3 separate regions of the Homo sapiens genome follow, and regions 1 and 2 are each linked to region 3. The links are contacts of gene promoters, found by promoter capture Hi-C in human tissues and cell types (Jung and others, 2019). All regions are on one chromosome and are shown on one strand. The core of a region is centred on a gene start or on the middle of the fragment in contact, and the rest is flanking DNA. Distances in the headings are between cores, read along the strand shown.

Region 1 (3,619 bases), core at 2-2,501, 62 kb after region 3:
GCAAGAACAGATAGGTAATGTAAGCAGAGAGACGGAAACTCCAAGAAAGAAACAAAAGGAAATAATAGAAATCAGAAACACTGTAACAGAAATGAAGGATGCCTCTGATGGGCTCATGAATAAACTGGACACAGCCAAGGAAGAATCAGTGAGCTCAAAGATAGGTCATTACAAACTTTCCCAACCAAAAACAAAGAGAAAAAGAATGAGAAAAAAAGAACAGACTATCCAAGACTGTAGAGCAATTGCAAAAGATGTACCATATATATAATTGGAATACCAAAAGGAGAAGAGAGAACAGAGAGGAAATTGTGAATGAAGCTAGGGGTATTGAAGTATTAATGGCCAAGAGCTTTCCAAACTTAATAACAGACATCAAATCACAGATCCAAGAAGCTCAGAAAATACCAAGCAAGAACCACACCTAGGCACGTCATATCCAAACTGCGGAAAACCAAAGACAAAATTTTGAAGAAGCTGGGGGCTGGGGGTGGGGTAAGGAGAACCCACCTTACCTATAGAGCAATAAGAATGAGAATTACAGGGGACTTCTCATAAGAAACTGCAAACAAGGAGAGAGAGGAATAAAAATTTAAGTATTGAAAATATTTAAATATTTCTTTTTCTCTCATGCCTTGGAAACTCAAAGCTGCTCCTCTAGGGCTGTGAGGCTCCTAGGGCTCTTTGTGTTTTTAAAGAAAGGCAAATTAAAACAACAACAACAACAACAACAAAAAAAAAAAACTACAAGTCTAGAAGTCTATACCAGCAAAATTATCCTTCAAAAACAAAGGCCGGCCATGGTGGCTCACTCCTGTAATCCCAGCACTTTGGGAGGCTGAGGTGTGTGGATCACTTGCGGCCAGCAGTTCAAAAGCAACCTGGCCAACATGTTAAAACCCTATCTCTACAAAAAATACAAAAAATTAGCCAGGCATGTTGGTGCATGCCTTTAATCTCAGCTACTAGGGAGGCTGAGGCACAAGAATCGCTTGAACCTGGGAGGTGGAGGATGCAGTGAGCAGGGATTGCACCACTGCACTCCAGCCTGGGTGACAGAGTGAATGAGACTCCACCTCAAAAAAAAAAAAAGACTATTTAAGTTAATGATAGTGACAATGTATTAGGTGAGTATCACATATGTAAAGTGAAATGAATGATAGCAATGTCACTGGGAATATGCTGTTGTTATAAGGTGCCTGTTACAGGTAAAGTGGTAGAGTGTCATTCAAGGTGGACTTAGACTAGTTAAAAATGTATATTGTAAACTCCAGGGCAACCACTAAAAAAATTGTTTTAAGTTAAAAAAAGATAAAAACACTACCCAGAGACACAGCTAGTTTTATACCATGAAATACCAGCACATGGACATGAGAATGTGGTACAAATGTTGATACAGGGAAGCAAAGTGAAGCTCAGAGAATGAAAGGAGTCCTACCTTGTATGGCGAAAAGAACAGTGAAAAGGGACTGAATACCTTTTCAACAGAAAACACACACCCACACACACACACACACACACGGCTGCTGTAGCTCATTAGGAAGAAGTGTGCTCAGCCAGGACACATCTTACTATTCAGACAAAGGTCACATTGAAAAAGCAAACAGATGGCAGCTTCCAAAACACTTTCTTGTTTGGTTTCAAGTGTGTTGCCATTTGAGGACAGAAATGTGGGGTGCCAGTCAGGAGCACACTCCTCTCACACCCTAATTACAGCAGCTAAGTCAATACTCAAATGAGGTAATACTTGACCCTGCAATCAAATCAGAAACCACATCATTTTAGTGAGAGGTGGCCCTAGTGCCTTTAGCAGTGGCCAGAAAGGAGAAATAATAGAGCTGCATCCTCACAGAAAACCTCAACTCCTCCCAGCAAGGTGAGAGAGCCCGAAGGATTGAGACAGAGGACAAAAACACAGTTAATTTTAGCAGTTTCATGTCCACTTGGTAAAATAAGAAGCAACATTTGCAATGTGACAGAGAAATGTCAAGGCCCTGGAAATGTCCTCTGAACCATGAAGGCTTTTGAATCATTTTCAAAGAAAAATATGCCCAAGATCATGCAGTTTCTCATTCAATTTTCTTTTGCCTTTTCTTTCTCTCTCGTGCCTTGGAAACTCAAAGCTGCTCCCCTTAGGGCCTGCCAGATTCCCTAGGGCTCTTTCTGTATTTAAAGAAAAGCAAATGAAAAGTGCTACTCCCTTCATAGTGAGGGGGCTGCTGTTGTTCTGGGGAACAAAACAAATGTCAGGGTCACCTTCTGTCTGTCACCATTTAATCCAGCTCTCATAGATATCTGAATATTTGGTGGTGATTTTGTGGCCTACTGGGATGACAAATTTCATCAGAAGGGGGAACAAAACCCACGGGCAACAAAAAACCCCAAATATATCATTGGAATGCCAGCTGTCACTTGGTTCTGGTCCCGTTTAGGATCTTCAAATCCAGGAACATGGCTAAATTCTCGGAAGCAGGAGCACCCAGCCCCGCTCTGGTCCTCGGCTAGTTGTGGGCGGCTCTGAAGGACTCCTCCCTGCCTGGACATCTGTCCATGCCTGACACCGTCACTGCTGACCCTGACGTAAAGAAGAACAACTGGATGCCTATGGTAAACCATCAATAAATGGTTTTCCTTGTGCGCTTTGTCCAAAACCCAGACAGTACCATATACATCGGTATAAACAAAACGTGGCCTCTGTCTTTCATGGGCCGATCTAAACTTGTTCATGAGCCTCCATGCGCTGAGTAGCAATAGGGGCGTTCCTGACCAGACAGAGGCTCCATTTCACCTTAATGTCAACAGTACTCTGGGTCCTCAGTGTCCTCTGTGGCAGGGTGGTTGGTGCAGCTCAGCACCTGGGCCCTGACACTGCACCACTGAGGGACGGTGGGCTACTTGAAGTTTGGTGTCTCTTGCTCAGGGACCCAAGGCCCTCTCTGGCTGACCTGGCCTCGTCTCAGTTCTCACCAGCATATCTCACTCAGTCTCAGGTGTCATTAATGACAGACCCCTGCAAGTCTCATCCAGGAGGCCAGTGGAGGTCACAGCTGAGACCTGGAGGGACTGTCAGTGCTATGAAGAGCTGAGGCCATGACCCCCAACCTCCTAATGAAGCTGCCCCCTCATGGCTTCTGCAGCAGGCTCACCTCACCACTTCTATCCAGGACCGAGAGTCAGCCCACAGACCCAACACAGCTTTCCTCCACACCCTCCACCAGGCAGAGAACACCCTCTGGAGCCTTCCCCACCCCACGGCGATGCTGAGCAGCACTCTCACAGGCCCTGAGGCCTGACCGTGTCTTGCTACCTCACTGGGCTGCAGCTGCCTCCTGGAGCCCTGGAGCCACCTGCACTGCTCTCCCTCCAGAATCCCTGTCACGGCTTCCAAGTTTCCTGCAACCCAACCCCCATTCCCCCACTCCAAGGATCCCAGCCTGGAGCACAGCCAGAACATGCCAGGGGCCTTCAGCTTCCCCTCCATCTGTCCCTCTGCTCCTTCCCGCTGAGTCTCCTAACCTGAAGGCTGAGGCCAGCCAGGAACTTCCCTCCATTGCCCTCTTCCTCCTCTTTTGCCTGCCTCTTCCCAAGGGCCCCATGATGGCATGGCTGCAGTGAACTT
Region 2 (3,670 bases), core at 423-2,922, 42 kb before region 3:
TGGCAAGTTCTTATAGAGTTTGAACTTGTTAGCCACCACAGCCACACGAACCAATTATTTAAATAAATCAACCTCTGTCTCTCATATATTTGTGTGTGTGTGTGTGTGTGTAATTCCACAGAAAGAGAATCATAAATATATATGAAATCTAACACACCAGGTGATAACCAATGTGCAGCCAAGGTTGAGAGCAACTGGTACAATGGATCTGTAAGAAATTGTGATGAATCCTATCAATATCAACTACACAGATTAGAGGGTTCTTCCCCATCTCATGGTCAGCAGAATGACCTGAGCAGTGTCAGTGGTGGAGCTCCGCACGGCCTAGGGGCCCCACAAGGCCTAGCAGCCTCCCACATGGGCAATGAGACTATAGAGGCACAATACCACAGCAGGCAGGCTATTCAGCCAACAAAGGGATAGGAACCACCAAAGGCATTCCAAGGGTCATTTTAGGGACAGACTTAAAAGACAGTCAGGATTTATGGGAGGGACAAGGCAGGAAATGTAGGTTTCTCTGGTGGGTCTTGGAGCCAATGGTCACTTCCAGCCCCATTGCTATAAGCTAAACCCAGACAATTTTCATGGATGTGCAGCCCAGCATGGTATAGAGATGGAATGTAAGTATCCACTCATATTTACAAAATTATTCCACTGTGAAAATGGCTTTCACACATATGAGACCACTTCTTCCTTCCAACAATCCATGGGGGTATCTAGGAACAATATTATTACCCTCAATTTACAGACAAGAAAACCAAGGCTCAGAGATTAGATGATTAGCCAAATTCACTAAGCCAGGGAGTACTTAGGTTGAAATTCAAACTGAGATTCCTTAACTCACAGTGCAGACTTCTCTTTAGTTACTATCATTAACATTAATAGATAATATTTATTGAACATTTTTGTATTCCAGGTGCTTACTGCAGTTTATATCAATTATAACATTTAATTTTCATAATTACACTAGAAAGTATTAGGACCACCACTTTACAGATGAAGAAACTAGGATTTAAGGGTTTAAGTAATTTTTAAAACCTCGCATGATATTCTTCTAAGAGTATTTATGAGCAGCACTGCATTTGTAAACCACAAATATACAACATGGCAGCTGGAATGCCTAGTCTATTATCAAAGAAGGTAAAACCTACATAGATAGGCATAGATCCCACTGGATTTGTTAACCCATGTCTCAACCAGAGCTGGGTAAAACAGACTATGCTGGAGGGACATTACTGTCCCTAACCCATCTCCCCATTTCCCAACTTCCTCTGAGTCCAAGGAGCTGGGCAGAAGAGCAGAATCCTCATCTTATACAATTCCTGAGGCCAGAGCTCAGGCCTGACATGTGGGTGTATACATCACCTCTCACATGCATAATCCTTCCCTCAAGGCACAAATAATGTAAATGAGGGATAGGAATGAAGAATGTCTAAGGGAAATCTGATTCCACCAGCCATATGAATCCTCATTTTTAAGAACAGAGCTCCTCCTTGATGATTTCCTCTTAAGTTTTTCACTTAGAAAAAACAATTGGTCTTAACGTCACCAATTACGGAACAAGTAGGCATCATCTCCTTCCTGATGTGATATACTGAGAAAGATGTATGCACATCATTTCTGGGGTATTCCTGCCAAAAGCATATCAACTAAATCTAATCAGAAGGGATATCAGACAAAACAAAATTGAGGGACAGTCTACAAAATAACTGTCTTATGCTCTTCAAATATGTCAATGTCATGAAAATCAAAGAAAGACTGAAGAATAAGTTCCAGATTAAAGGAGAAGAAAGAAATGTTAACTAAATGCAATTCATAACCCTGGATGGAATTCTGGATCAGGAAATGTTTTTGGTTTGGTTTTGTTATAAAGGATTGTATTGACACTTGACACAATTTGAAGAAGGTCTGTAGATTAACTAACAGTATTGCATCTATGCTAATTTCCTGATTTTGAAGATTGCACTGTGGTTATGCAAGAGGATGTCCTTGTCTTTTAAGAAACTGAAGCTTGGGGCATGGAGAAAAGAGAGAGAGAAAGTCAGATAGAGAGAAAGAATAATAAAGCAAATATGATAAATGTTAATGTTTGGGGCATCTGGGAAAAGAGTAAAAGAATTCCATAGTGCTATTCTCATAAGTTTTCTCTAAGTCTGAAATTATTTCAAAATAAAACCCATTATTATTTAGAGACATTGAGCCTTTATGAGTAAACATGACAGAATCTTCAGTCTTGGTAGGAAACTGTGATCAAAGTCTGTGCAAAACAAGTCTTAATATTGTATCATTGAGGTGGGAGGAAGCAGGGGCATTAATCCACCAACTCTCATTCCTCTTTGGTTGAGAGTTGTCTCTGAGGCATTAAGTCTGCAACACTTTCATGCTGCCCTGTTCACAGACAGAGCACATGCCTACCACCAGAACCGCTAAGGCAGAGATGCAAGATGCCATGATGTGTACAAGAATGGCCTGCAGATGACCTCTGGTATGGGATTAGAGGATATGAACAGGGTAGCTACAGTGTCTACCAGAGTGACACAACCTAACTCCTACCCACTAGCATAGTATCTTCCTTCCAGTCATCTGTCACCCAAAGGGCTTTTAGGCAGAGAAACTTCAAAAAACACATATGCCTGAAGTTGAGTTGATATCCATGTTCTGGAAAACAAAGAAAGAGGTACTATGGAATGAACAATTAAAAAGCCCTGAGTGAACGCAAAGGAAGTATGTATTTTCTGTGTGGATTTTCTCAGTAACAGGCCAGTTTGGCTCTTTTCAGCTAGGGTAATTGGAATAAAGGTGTTCCATTTTGAGACAAGAGGGAAAGCCGGGGTCACTGCTTGCAGCCAGGAGCTAAAATGAGGCTTCCATGAAGACTGGCAAAAAGGAAGTAGACTGCTGCTGCCTGAGATTATGGCATTTAGGGCCAAGGAATGTAGAAGGACTTTAATGAAGCTTGATTCCAGGAGCTGAATCAAGACACCTACACCTTAAGAACAGAGAGTTTGCCAAAGAGGAAATACAAATGGAAAAAAAAAAAACATATGAAAAGATTTTCAACATCATTAGTCATCAGGAAATGCTAATTGAAACTATAGAGAGACATCACTACGCACCTATCAAAATGCCTAAAATAAAAAATAGTGACAAAACCAAATGCTGGTAATAGTGTAGAGAAATGGGATTGTTCATTAATTGCTTGCAGGAATGTGAAATGACATATCCATGCTGGAAACCCATTTGAAAATTTCTTACAAAACTAAATATGCAGAGTGACAACAAGAAGATTGGCAAAGCAGAAAGCACAGGAATCTATCTCCCCACCAAGACAAAAAAATGCACTGGCAGGATCTGTCTGATGTAACTATTTTGAAACTTGGAGTCTGTTTGAAGGCTTTCAACTTCCAGGCAAAAGCTTGAATGGAAAGTTGCAATTAATTTCAGTCTATTTAAACTTTTAATGCAGTACAACAATTAAAAATAAAGGAAACCATGTGGAAAGGGAAGAATCTGATTTTCAGAGTTAAAAATTATAAGGTTCAAATGTCAAAAATCAAAAAGCATACAAAGAAAGAGGAAAGTATGGCCCAGTCAAATGAAAAAAAAAAAATCAACAGAAACTCCCTAAGAAAGAACAGCTGGCAGATTTATTAGACAAAGGCTTTAAAAT
Region 3 (3,669 bases), core at 949-3,448:
CTACCCCCAAGTGTCCTCATGACATTTGTCATAATCCCCCCATCCTTCCTCATTTCCCCATGCTCCTGTCTCTTGGCAACCACTGCCTTTTTTTTTCTGTCACTACGTTTACATTTTTTAGTATTTAATATAAATCGAATCATGTAGTATGTGCTCAGTCTTCTCTGTCTTCTTTCACTCAGCATAATTATTTTGCCATTTATCCACATTGTCATTTGTGTGTATGCCAATCATTTCTTCCTTTTCATGGCTAAGTAATATTCCATGGTATGACACCGCACAATTTGTCCACCCATTCACCTGTTGATGAACATGTGGCTTGTTTCCAGTTTAGGACTACTCCCAACACAGCTGCCATGAACATTCACATGCATGCGAGTGTTTATTTTATGCTTGTACATATGCTTTCTTTTCTCTTAACAAAATACCCAAGAACAGAATGGTGGGATTATTTGGTAGGCGTGTATTTGAGCATGGCAGTTGTGATGAAACTTCCACCCAGGTTTCAGAGTGTCCACACTGTGTAGGTGTTTGAGCATGGCAGTTGTGATGAAACTTTCCTCTAGGTTTCAGAGTATCCACACTGTGTATATTTAGCCCACAAGTCAAAGGTACACACAAACCACATGTGAACCAAGAACACACACACACTCACCCACAAGGAGTTTGCATCAGCTGCAACAGACTTCATCCTATCCTCCCAGACAACATGTGAAGGGAGCTTCCGGAAGGGAAATCTCCCAGGCTGCCCTCTGATTTTGTAAAATGTTCAATGCACAAGCTCCTGACAGCATGGATACTTTATAAATGGCTCACAGAGGGCTGTGGGGTCTGTCTCTGGGAGATCCTTTAATTAATGGCACCATCTCATTGGCCTAGAATAGAATAGTTACAGTCAATACTGAGAGCTTTGGCATGAAGTGAAGCAGAGCTGGAATTCTCTAAGGGTGGTGCCATCAGCATCCCCTGGGAACTTGTTAGAAATGTGCATTCTCTCCAGCCCAGATTTCCTGAGTAGAAGCTCTGAGATGGAGCCCAGCAATCCAGACTTTAACCAACCTTTCCGGTGATTCTGATGCATGCTCCAGTTAAGAACCACTGGCCTAGAACACCTCCCAAGCCCTTCAAGTTTCTTGGAATTGAAACCATCAGAAATTATAATACACCAACAGCACCATCCCCTCTATTGCCTGGGTTCCACCCACAGACCTGTGGTGCCCCATTCCCTTAGCACCCCACAGTCTCATAGTAAAGTTTCCTCATGGAATCAAGTTACCATGCAGAATGCACACCTGCACAATGATAGTTATCACTTCTTTCCCCAAAACATCAAACTTTTTTAGAAAAGGAAAAATGTCTCAAGAACACAATCATTGGAGTATTTAATTCCAATGATCATAATCACCCATTTCTTTACACGTGGCTCTCACCCTGGCATAAATGGAGCATAAAGGGCATAAATGGAGCTAAAAAAAGAGAAAAAGACAAAGATTCTAATTGATGCACTACAACGCTTTTTACTGCTTCAGAACCCTCCCTGAAAATTTACCCATCAACAGGAAAATCAATTAAACTTGAATAGGAAGAATTTGAGTAAAAATATTGGATACTTTTTACTTTAATCTTCAGATTAAGCATGATTTCCACTCGACATTATCATCGAAGAGAAGTTCTTCCTTGGTATTTTTGCATGCTTAAAATTTAGCCCAGTCTTTGAAAACCCTTTCCAGCTTCCAGCTAAGCAGAACCTTGCCACTCACTTTGAACTTTCCGGCAAGGAAAGCCTTCTGCGGGTTCATTTTGCCCAAAACCAGCTCCATAAAGACAGACTCCGGGATTGTAAAGACAGTGTCTGCTGGGAGCCTGGCAGGTCCCGGATACATGTCCCCAGAACCATTCTTCAGATCAATGGTCCACCGCAAAATGGTCTTCCCATTTTTGGTGATGTCCAGCTGAAAGACGGCATTGACTTTCTTGACCAATTGAGCTCCCACTTCCCTGATGTGAAGCCTAATGTCCTGAAACACTGGGAAGCTCTCAAATTCTGACAGCTCTAGAGGATGTGGCATGGCAGGTTCTGGAACTGAACCCAGAACCTCGAACTGGCCCACCAGAGGTCCATCCTCTGCTTTGATCTTGGGTTGATGGTCACTTCTCTTCCACATCTTCCTGTGCTAGTCCCCTGGACCTTGCCATCTAGTCTGTGAGCAGCTGTGACCAGATTAATACCCACAGGTCAGATTGTGACATCAAAGGTAAGGCCAAGTGGGGACTGAAGCTGGTGTGTGTGCTACAGTCTTATTGGCCAAACAAATGATAACGTGTGACCTCAGATAAGGGCTCAGACAGGCCATTGTGAGGCAGATCCACACACACACGCCCCTCCCAAACCAATCAGGGATGTTGGTCCTGCAAGCCCAAAAGGTCTGCAGGCTGCAATGGGGTTAAGGGAAACTGGCCCCAGAAGCTTCTTTAGTGACATGAGCTCTGTCTTTCCAATGCAGACATCTCCTCAGTGAAACCCAACGTGAGACAGAAGTTATTCTTATTCCTCTAAAACTAGGTAACACTTAAGTCCCATTAAGTGGGTAATACTTAAGTTAATACTACAGATCCTAGTGCTGAATTTGGCTTTATCTGGCTGCTGGTAGAAAGGGAAATGCTTTTAGGCCAGAGTAATTGATTGGAGAAGGAATCAGTCCAGGAGCCTGCATCAGAAACTTTCCAGAAGCACAGTGAGACACACACAGAGAGATTAAATGTCCCTAAGATCAGAAGATGCTGCCAGTCTCCTCTGATAATTACACGTAATAGTATAGCCCTTGCTCTGGGCCAAGGTGCAGAGTTCTAAGTACTACACATGTATTAACACATTTAACTCTCATTACAACCCTCTATGATAGGTATTTTTTCTTTTTTTTTTTTTTTTTTGAGACAAGGTCTTGCTCTGTCACCCAGGCTGGAGTACAGTGGCGCGATCTCTGCTCACAGCAGCCTCTGCCTCCTGGGCTCATTTGATCCTCCCACCTCAGTCTCCCAAGTAGCTGGGAATACGGCGTGTGCCACCACACCTGGCTAATCTTTGTACTTTTTGTAGAAATGGGGTTTCACCATGCTGCCCAGGTTGGTCTCAAACTCCTGGGCTAAAGTGATCCACCTACCTCGGCCTCCCAGATAGGTATTCTTTTTATCCCCATTTTACATATAAGGAAACTGAGGGGAGAAATGAAGTAACTTGCCCAATGTCACACAGTTAGTAAGTAGTGTAGCCAGATTTGAGGAGAGGCAGAATGACTCCAAAGTCCACCTGTTTATTTCTTTACTTTTTATTCTGAAATAATTTCAGTCTTATAAAAAGTTTGCAAAAATAGTACCTGTTTAACCTTCTCCCAGCTTTCCCCAAAACTAACATCTTATATAATCACAGTACAGTGATCTAATCTGAGAAATTCACATTGGTTCATGACTACTAACTAATCTACAGACCATGTGAGACCATATCTATTTGGTTGCAGGTCTCCCTAGTGCCTTGCAGTCTGGGGCAGCTCTTCAATCTTTGTCTATCGTTACCTTGACACTTGAATACTGGCCAGTTATTCCCAAAAATGTCCCTCCTTTGAGGACTGCCTGATGCTTTCTCCTGGTTAGGTGGAGGTTATGCATTTGGGA

Evidence for each region. Contacts are between HindIII fragments. The study calls those that stand out against the background at their distance.
Region 1: a fragment that was not itself captured here is called in contact with the fragment with the promoter of SCP2D1 in region 3 in 1 of the 25 tissues and cell types used here (spleen).
Region 2: a fragment that was not itself captured here is called in contact with the fragment with the promoter of SCP2D1 in region 3 in 8 of the 25 tissues and cell types used here (H1 embryonic stem cells, IMR-90 fibroblasts, aorta and 5 more).

The regions. Positions count from the first base shown.
Region 1 is chr20:18,748,967-18,752,585 of GRCh38, reverse strand. All of the region lies in intron 5 of DTD1 (D-aminoacyl-tRNA deacylase 1), which reads right to left. Among named protein-coding and RNA genes, the nearest start is that of LCDR, 43 kb to the left of the region's middle. The HindIII fragment of the contact is 5,781 bases long and covers 1-3,619 here.
Region 2 is chr20:18,853,793-18,857,462 of GRCh38, reverse strand. No RefSeq gene overlaps it. Among named protein-coding and RNA genes, the nearest start is that of SCP2D1-AS1, 25 kb to the right of the region's middle. The HindIII fragment of the contact is 7,453 bases long and covers 1-3,670 here.
Region 3 is chr20:18,812,312-18,815,980 of GRCh38, reverse strand. It overlaps SCP2D1 (SCP2 sterol binding domain containing 1), which reads right to left and starts at 2,198. Exons shown (of 1, transcript NM_178483.3): 1 at 1,603-2,198. The coding sequence starts at 2,165. The coding sequence ends at 1,695. The region is part of intron 2 of SCP2D1-AS1 (SCP2D1 antisense RNA 1); the gene reads left to right. The HindIII fragment of the contact is 11,706 bases long and covers 1-3,669 here.